Regions from separate parts of the Homo sapiens genome. Here regions 1 and 2 are each linked to region 3. The links are contacts of gene promoters, found by promoter capture Hi-C in blood cells and fetal thymus (Javierre and others, 2016). All regions are on one chromosome and are shown on one strand. Each heading gives the region's core, a stretch centred on a gene start or on the middle of the fragment in contact. The rest is flanking DNA. Distances are from core to core; before and after follow the strand shown. Region 1 holds the start of CEP135 (centrosomal protein 135). Region 2 holds the start of EXOC1 (exocyst complex component 1). Region 3 holds the start of DCUN1D4 (defective in cullin neddylation 1 domain containing 4).

The links. Contacts are between HindIII fragments. The CHiCAGO score rates a contact against its expected background, and 5 or more counts as called.
Region 1: a contact is called between the fragment with the promoter of CEP135 here and the fragment with the promoter of DCUN1D4 in region 3, in 1 of 17 cell types (total B cells). The highest score is 6.2, in total B cells.
Region 2: a contact is called between the fragment with the promoter of EXOC1 here and the fragment with the promoter of DCUN1D4 in region 3, in 4 of 17 cell types (naive CD4 T cells, non-activated CD4 T cells, total CD4 T cells and 1 more). The highest score is 6.3, in naive CD4 T cells.

The regions. Positions count from the first base shown.
Region 1 is chr4:55,947,535-55,950,373 of GRCh38, reverse strand. CEP135 (centrosomal protein 135) reads right to left here and starts at 1,429. Exons shown (of 26, transcript NM_025009.5): 1 at 1,315-1,429. It overlaps EXOC1-AS1 (EXOC1 antisense RNA 1), which reads left to right and starts at 2,362. Exons shown (of 5, transcript XR_941069.4): 1 at 2,362-2,534. RefSeq lists silencers at 1,024-1,483, 1,534-1,673 and enhancers at 888-1,852, 2,471-2,620. The HindIII fragment of the contact is 6,740 bases long and covers 1-2,839 here.
Region 2 is chr4:55,852,224-55,855,260 of GRCh38, reverse strand. It overlaps EXOC1 (exocyst complex component 1), which reads right to left and starts at 1,613. Exons shown (of 19, transcript NM_001024924.2): 1 at 1,308-1,613. RefSeq lists a silencer at 1,722-1,821. The HindIII fragment of the contact is 2,625 bases long and covers 356-2,980 here.
Region 3 is chr4:51,841,685-51,844,807 of GRCh38, reverse strand. It overlaps DCUN1D4 (defective in cullin neddylation 1 domain containing 4), which reads right to left and starts at 1,655. Exons shown (of 11, transcript NM_001040402.3): 1 at 1,541-1,655. The coding sequence starts at 1,565. RefSeq lists silencers at 428-547, 1,098-1,177, 1,278-1,627, 1,718-1,767, 1,778-1,927. The HindIII fragment of the contact is 3,870 bases long and covers 517-3,123 here.

The DNA.
Region 1 (2,839 bases), core at 180-2,679, 4.1 Mb before region 3:
ATGCATTACATGCATGAGCATACATGTAAAAGTCGATCCTCACAGCTACCCTGTGAGGGAGAAAGACCAATGATATTATCCCTACTTAAACATGAGGAAAGGCTGCCTCAAGAAAGTAACTCTTCCAAAACCACGGGGCCACAAAGTAGGTGGGCAGTCATCAGAGACCAGGTCTCCTGAGTCTCTCCTTGGTCACTCCTTTCTGTATATCTTTCTCTTTGCTCTTGTTAACTTTTTTTGAATGGCTTCCTCATAGATTTCCTAGGTTCTTTCCACAAGAGACACCTAAGTGATGCAGGGTTTTTAGGGAAATTCCTGCAGACATCAGAAATACACCTGACAAATCCAGGTGTATTACTAGCAGGGTGTAAACTTACAGGCGGTGCACCACTCAAAACATTTCCCCTCTTTGCTACCAACTCCAGTTACCCAGAGATAATACCTCCTCACATCCTGCTTTGGAGGGGAGAGAATGAGAATGAATATGAATCAATAAATCATGGCCAGGGCCTCAATACACAGGACGGATTAAAATCCTCCCAGATAGAAACATGTTAGGCCGTCCCCACCCATGAACTGTTGTCTTTCCCCATAACCCCCATCCAAATATGGTGGCTATACTCTAAGTTTCTAGCAAAGCAACATAAAAGGTTAGGTTTGGGGGTCCCCCATACATATATGTGTAGAAGTATCCATCTACTTAACTCTGGGGGTTGGCGTCTCAAAACCAGTACATTTAATGCTGTATGTATGTGTGCACAGGGCTTAAGAAGATAAACAAGAAACCCCAAACGACAACAAAGAAACCCGTTAGCTGTGGTTATCTCAGAGTCCTTTCTTATTGAACTCAAAGTAGTAAAGGCTGGAAAGCAGTGGAGAGGCTTCAAAGGAGCTGGGCAAAGGTTAATTAAAGGCTGTCGTCCTACGCTTTGCGACATTTTTGTTACAAAGAGCATGGATGACTGCTACACTGAGAAGGCATTTTAATGTTTAAATCTATCCATTGGTCAACAGCAAGCCTGTCTGCACGGCCCACACAGACGCTCCTTGACGAGTCGGCCCAAGCTCTCCTCCACCCAATCTCCGGTTTGCAACTTTACCGTCGGGTGTTGACGGGAAGGGGGTGTGGGAGCGGGGTGGGTGGGAAGAGTCCCCGCGCCCCTCCCCGCCCGGTCTGACCCGGCCTGGCCTCACTTCCTCCCGCGGCCGCGCGGCCTCCCGGCAGTGCCCGAGCCCGGCCCGCGGGTACCGCCCAGAAGGCGAAGGCGCCACCACCGCCGCAGCTGGCCCTCTGGCTCCCACATCCGGACTCACCGGCAGCTCCAGCCGCCGTTGCCTCCGCCTCCAGCCGCATTGCCCTCAGGCCTCGAGTCCCCCACTAGCTCCTTCCGTCCAGGCACGGGCTCCGGCGCTAGAGCAGTTTGAAAATGGCGCGGAGGGACGATCGGGGCCGACACGGAGGAGGCGCCGCGGTTGCCCCGGTAACGGGAGCGGCGGACGATTAGCGGCTCGCGGCGGGGACGCGCTTGGCGACGATGGCGGAGCCCCAGTGCCCGGAAATGCAACGGCCCGGACAGCGCGAGGCCACGGCGCCCCCTGGAGGTCGGCGCCCGCGGCCAGCAAATGCCAAACCTCAGCTGGTGCCTGAGCTGGCATCCTCTTCCTCCTGTCGGCGGGAGGTGTGGATCACCTACTGCGTGCGGGGAACAAACGCCGCCCCAGTACCGGTCCCTGCAGCGGAGTAGCCTTCACCTGCAAGGTGAACGCCTGCTCACCACGTAATCCCCAAACGCAGATATCACGTTGTCTCTGCAACTTTCCCTGACAACCACCCAATGCAATTAATTATCCCACAATAGTATCTCCCGCAGGCTCTCTGTAGAACCATAGAATTCATCCATCAAAATACAATCATTTGTTGATCCGTCTCTCTCTGCCGCCCCCAAATGTGAATTCCTTGAGTCAGAGACTATTCTACTCAGCAAAACATTTGTGAGTGGAATTAAATTGAAATAAACCGTTATAGTCCACTCACAGATGGAAAACACATAGTAAAATCCTAGAATTCCATTTCTCCCCTGAAAATTTCCCAGACAGTCAGAGGGAGTTTCATTCTTTCCTGTTTACTTTTCTCCCAAATAGGCCTTCTGAGGCAGCAGAATAGGGAAGGAAGTCAGAAGACTGACCAGCTCATACCTATGGAATGCCTATCATACATACACTTAAAATTATGGCAAGCTCACGCAGGCGCACTAAGAGAGAAAAAACAAGAAAACAGATATGACAATTATAGGAAATCCCCTCCCTAGAGTTAAAGAAGTGTAGGAAGTGGGTATAAAAGAACAAAGGCTATATTAATCCAGGGCTGACACCACTTGAAGATAAGCCCGTTCCTCTCTCTGGTATATTCTTTGCTTAATAAATCTTGTGGGGTGGTTATTTGTGTGTCTCATCCAATTCTTTGTTCATAACACCAAGAACCTGGAACTCCCAACTTCCAATCTGGTAACATATTTTGGTGAGCCAGCCAGGAGGTAAGCCCAGAAGAACTGGGACTTTTTATTTTCTTTCTTTTTTGCTTCAGCTCTTTCACTTTGGTTTAAAGCTGCCTTCTGCTGGCACGGATTGGGCAGTTAAGAACGAAAAAGGCACTGGCCGCTTGAAGACTCCCATTGTTGCGGGAAAGCAGAGGACCAGAAAGACCAATGGGTGGAGCAGGAGGATTTTATTAAGGTGTGCACTGGCTCCGTGGATTTGCATCCAAAAAGCTGAGCCCTGAACAAAGACAGAGCTTGGCTTATATAGGCTAAATTAAAAAAGCAGAACCAAGGCAGTAAAT
Region 2 (3,037 bases), core at 364-2,863, 4.0 Mb before region 3:
CATATCAACTTTACTTAACCCTACAAAATCTGGTTCTCTTTGCAAGGTCCCACAACCCTGAACAACAAGATAATTTTAAAAGACAGTTTGTATCACATCACGCTTTTACTCAACGTTTTCCTAATGTTCTCAAAAACATTCCACTCCAAACACTCTGTTCATTTTGGACATCAAATCTTCACTTTGGTACTTTCCATGTAAGGAATATCATCTCCGCCCTATCCAAACCCTAATTACACTTCATGGTTTACATGAAGTTGATTCAATGAAGATCTTAATCCAAAGTGATCTCTCCTCTAAATTTCTACAGCACTTACTGCATTTGCCGTCTAATGGGCTCATTAAATCATAAGCTTCTCTATCTCAAGAATTCTCTTAAAGAAGGGAGGGATGTTCATCATAGTTTTGTGTTTAGTGGATACTTAAATATCTATTAAGGTAATTAGAACTGAATAGTAAAAACTGGTCAAATGAATAATAGGGACCAACGTTTACCACATACTCCTTCTCTGGCTAAAAGCAACTGAGTGTACAGTAAGAGGCAAAACAAGACAGGATTGGGCATACCTCATAAAGGAGTTAGCCATAATGAAAAGCAGTATGTGACTCTTCATTCATTCAGCAAATACTCATGCTTATTAGGTGGCAGACACTATTCTAGGTTACAGTAGTCAACATGACAGATATGTTTATGAAGACCTGAAGCCGGGTGTTTCTATGGCATTTACATCCTAAGAGTCGAGTGATTAACTCTTCAGTCTTTACGGTACTTTTCTGAAAGTCAGTAAATAAATCCCTAGAGGTCCTCTAAAATTATTCTCCAGGTCTGAGAACCCATATCTGACCACGTTCCAAAGGCAGCCATCCACTGCTTACTCTGTACTGGTTGTTTCCTTCAGCTCAGTTGGACCACCACACTGTGTGACAAATAGCCTGTCAGTGTGAGTGCCCGTGTGCATTGGGCCCTGTATGCTGCTGAGATATATTAATGCATGAAGCATTGCCATCTAGAAGATATAACTGTGCAAGGAAATAGAGAAATACACTTAAGAGATTTGGCGGGGGGTGGGGGGGAGTTGGGGTTGGGGGGCCGGGATGTGAATTTGGACAAAGAGGAAGGCACAGTCACGCTCTCCTCTCCTGGACCACGCCAAAGAGCTTACGATCAGGGTCATTTTGCACAAACAAAATCTGGTTCCGATGGGCGGAACCGTAATGGGGCCCGTGAGGACTGCCCTCCCAGCTCCGCATTCTCCTAGACCCGAGGACAAGGGACTGGAGAATGCTCTGACCAAACTTCGTCTTACCGGGACAAACGGGGAAAGGAAGGTCAGAAGGAGCGGTGCCCGACCCCAGGCGTGGAGACAGCAGCCGGACTGAGGAGCCGCCTTAGACCCTGGTGCCTGTCAGCTCGTCTGTCCGCCGCCGCCGGGACTACCGGGCAGCCGCGGCCGAAGGCTTACCGCAAGGCCGGACTGAGCCTGGCTGTGCCGAGGCGGGTCTTCCAAAACGGAGACCGGATGGGGGCCACTAGGATACGCCCCTCAATAAAGCGTTGAACGGGAAGCGGCCGTTCCCCCAACACTTCCTATATCCGGGCACGTGACAAACTCCGCGCCGGAAGTTGACCGCGTAGAGAAGGAAGAAGCAGCGATGGGAGAAAAAGGGAGCGGCCAATAGACGCGGAGGGGCGGGGCGCCAACCGACGGGCGTGGCCAGGCGGAACAAGGCCTCATTGGAGGGGCGTGTCAGGGAAGGGCAGGGGCGGGGCCTTTGTGGCACAGAAACTGACTTGGGAGTTGGGGATTAAGAGTTATTTATTCAGATATTTGCAGCAATTCATTTAAGAAGAAATTCGATTAAATGTTTTCTTTTTTCATACGTAAAGCTCTATTAACTCTAGATCTTTGCTACTTAAACTTTGGAGAGCTTAAATGAGTTAAATCAGAATCCCTGCGGGTGGGACCCAGACATCAGTACTTTTAATATCTTCCCAGATGATTCTCATATGCAGCTAAGGTCAAGAACCATTGTCCTCATGACCTTGATACTCAAAGTGTGGTCCGTGGATCAGCTGCTTGGGTATCATCTGGGGGCTTTTTAGGAAATGCAGCCTCTCTGGCTCACTTCAGATCTACTGAATCAGAATCTGCATCTTAGCAAGATGATGCTTATGCATATTTAAGTTTGGGATGCATAAATGATGCCAATGTTGCTGGTTGCAGGTAGGTGTTTTATTTATTCAATATTCCTGGCACCTTTTTTTTTTAATGCTAGGCACTTTGATTCCAGGTACAGAGGTGATTCAGGCATGAATCTTAACCTAAAGGAGTTCACAGTGTGGTAGGACTAGACAAGGTGTAGGTACAAATATATATAAAATAGGACACAAAATAAGTGACCAAAGAGAGGTACAGATCAGATAAATGTGCTAGAAATTTAAATGAGCAAACAGTAGTTAGAATACTTTTCACTTTCATCAAATGACTTCCCTTTTAAGAGCAGGATCTGGTTATATCTTTACAAAGACCCTTTCCTGCTTGGCACCGGAATGCTTACTGTGGACACTCTATGACAATTGCATGTGTTTTTTGGTCCTATTATCTTTCTTTTATTTACCTGTATGTTTATAGCCCTCCTCAAAGTTGGGAAATGAATTGCATTTCAGAAGCCTAGATCTCTTTCTTGAACCTCAAGATTTGTGTATATACTGCCCATCGCCTGACATTTCCACTTGGATGTCTTATAGACACCTCAAACTTGTGTGTCCAAAAATTAAATTATCCTCTCTCCTCTTGGATTCCCTGCAAAGTGACACTTATATGCAATAGTTTATTTGGAAATTTGATCCCAGGGAGCAAAATGAGGGAAGAGGAAGAAGACAAAACAAAAAGGGAGATGCAGTATAAGAATGTGTTACTGAGTTGGTCATCACCATATTTGAATGTTTTCTTAGTCCCTTAGGACCTTCTAAGAAGCTTTATGAAATGAGTCTCAGAACTGTCCATTAAAGGAAAGAACGGAGGAAGCATTTGTA
Region 3 (3,123 bases), core at 406-2,905:
CGGCCGGGCGCGGCCGCGACTACAAGTCCCAGAATTCGGCGGGACCGCCTTTCCCCTTCATACCCGTTGACTGGAGACAAACCCTAAAGGAAACCCCTCAAGCGCCCTCCCAGCACGCCTGGGAGAAGTCGCGCCCCCCGGGCGTGGGGCGCGGCCTAGGGCCCGGCCATCCCTCTAAGGAAGCGGGTTCCATGGCACCAACCCCCACACCTGATAGCCAGAAATTAGACAACTGCGTCACAGACTATCAAACCCACGGACTGCCAGGGACCCCGACACCTCCCCGGCGCCAAGCCCCCGACCCGGCCATCAGGGCCCGACCCCTCCGGCTCCCGCTGCTGAAACCCCGCAGCCCGCACCCCTGCCCCGCCTCCTAGTCCCGCTGCCGGAGCCCGCGCCAGCGCTGACCTCGCTTCCCGCCGTCCGGGGGGAACCACGGCCAGTTCCAACCTTAGGGCACTTACCCCGTCTCCTCCACCTCAGCCCCGCCCCCTCCTCTCTCCGCACCCCGAAGCTTGGACTCCCCCCTTCAAGGGACCCTGCCTCGACAGGGAGAGGAAGTACCTCCCCTAAGCACAGTCTGACACCCCCTTAGCCCGGCTCCGGACCGAATCTGGACGTGACAGTCCTCCTGCCCAACTCCGCCCCACCTCCCCTTCCTCCCCGACTAGCTCCTCACCCCCATTTCATATTCTCCACCCCTGCCCCCACTCTGCCACCCCAAATCCTACCCACCTTTTTCTCCTCTTCCTCCCAATCGCCCTACCCTTCCACACCTGCCCCATCTCTTTACCCCAACATCTTCCACTCCCACCACTCTCCGTTACCCACCGCCCTTCCAACGCCCCTCCCGCCCCGCAGGACTCCCCAACTACCATTACACCCCAGTCCCTCCCACCACCTCGCTTTCCCGTTACATCAGCCCTCGTCCAGTCGCCCGCCCTCCTGCCCCGCTCGGCCGCTGCCCCCATTCCCCCACCCCATTGTTCGCCGCCCCCCCCCCACCCCCCCGCCAACCAGCCCTTCTTCCCATTGTCCCCGCCCCCGCGCCCCCCTCGCACTCACCCGCCTTTCTCACGGAGCCGCCCGCACCACTCAGCCCTTTGGAAATCCTCACCCTTGTGCCCCGCTCGCTCGCTCGCTCCCTCCCTCTCCCCGCCGGTGCCACCCCCCCACATCCCCGGCCCTGCCCGCTACAGCCCAACGCTGCCTCCACCTCCATGCACCCCGGACACTCCGATCTCGGCCCTTCATCGCACGTCCAGCCCTCCCTTCCCCCAACACTGAAAGAGAGCCAGTCCCCACCCCCCTCACCTCCGCCCTCCCCGCAGGCCGGTCCCTTCCCCCCACGCCCGCCCCCGCCCCACGCCGCCCGCAGCGTCACCGCCCGCCCCGGCCCCGGGAGGGGAAGGGGTGGTTCCCAGGCAGGGGCTCCCGGCGCGTTTCGGGACCCGAGGCGTGGGGCGGGGACTGCGGGAGCCGAGTGGCGAGTTTGGCAGCCGCCCGGCCCCGGCCCGCTGGCTGGCTCTCTGCTACTCACTGACAGCGGCGGCATCCGAGTGCATTTTCAGGCAGCTCACACCCGGCTCGCCGCCCAGGCTCCCGCGCTCGCCTCGCGGTCCCCCCACCAGCTCACTGCACCTCGGCTCGAAGCTGAGGACCCGCCGCCGGGCACTCCCAGCCCGCCCATCTCGCCTTCTCCATTGGCTAAACCGCGGCTCAGGGGCCGCCCTGCTGCGTCTCTCATTTGACAAAAGGAGTGCCCATAGCGCCGGTCTGGAGCTGGCAACGAGGCCCCGCCCCCCACTGGCCAATACGATTGGTCCTGGGGCCTTGTCTCCGTAACGCCCCTGGCGGAGGCCATGCTCCGGAGCAGCGGGTTGGGCCCGGCTGCTGTCAGTCACCCCCAGGGGTCCGAGAGCGCGTGTAGGGGCGAAGCTGGGAAATTGGTCCACCTTGACCCTGAAACCCCGCCCAGTGGCGGGCGGGATTGGTGGAGCTGGAGACCCACCAAGAAAGATGGGTCGGCGTCTGAAACAAAGCACGCGAAGTGTTTCCCAAAGAATAGAGCAGCGCAGCGCAGTTGGGGGCGGCTCGTACCAGCTGCTGGAAGTAGGGAAATGCGTCCGTCCCTAGCGCCCGGCGCGACGCGGCCGGGTCTCCCGCCACTTGTCCCACGACACTTGTCCAGTTCGCGCCGAACTCGGACTGGGACTTCTCTTGTCAGCTGCTTCCTACCGCAGGAAACTGGATTAAGAATTGCCGCGTCTTAATTTCCAGCAAACCTTCTGGTGGGGAGCAAATTTCCATTTCTCCTACGAAGATCCATCCTCTCCCCACTTTCGAAATGTACTTCTTTTCCAGAGTCCGCATACTTGTTTCGCAGAGTTCGCACACTTCTTTCCTCTAGTCACTAATGTCTGTTAAAGAGGCTTCGAATGCCACGAGCATTGTCCGTCACACACATCTGTATGCCCCAGACATCAGACAGAAATACAGGGCCGCGCTCTGAGCTGCGGACTGAGCCTAACACATGGACGAGTCCAGGGGGCAGACCACCAGCCCGTGAAAGACCCCCGGCGGCATCTAAGAAAACCTGTCACTCCCGCGGAGAGGCCGTCCAGAAATTGAAACTGGCTGTTATTTGGCAGAGGGAGACGTTAATTTTGGTGAATTCTTCTGACCCTAAGTCAAGAATTCGCACCATTTCCATGAGTCCTGCCCTGATTTTTCAATACTTGAAGCTAACTTATCACACCGCATTATGGTAACAGAACAATATTTCGAGATATTAACGGAGGATTCCCCCCACCCCAACCCACCCCCACCCTACCCTGCCTCCACCCTCATCCCAGCCACCAACTCCAACAACAACACACCTACAAGGCATCCCCATATCCTAAGGCCCTGGGCCATCTGGGAGCCTCAAAGAGTAGGTGACACCACAAATCACAGGTAACAGAACGCACGGTCTTTTTGGTTTTAGATTTCTACAGCCCAGGCTTTTGGGTTTCCAGGCTCTGAAATTTAGATTTTAAATCAGGACACAAATGTTATGCTATTTGGAAGGGGCTCAGACAAACCAGTTTCTGTGTCCCACAGCACTCCCATGGTAAAATGCTC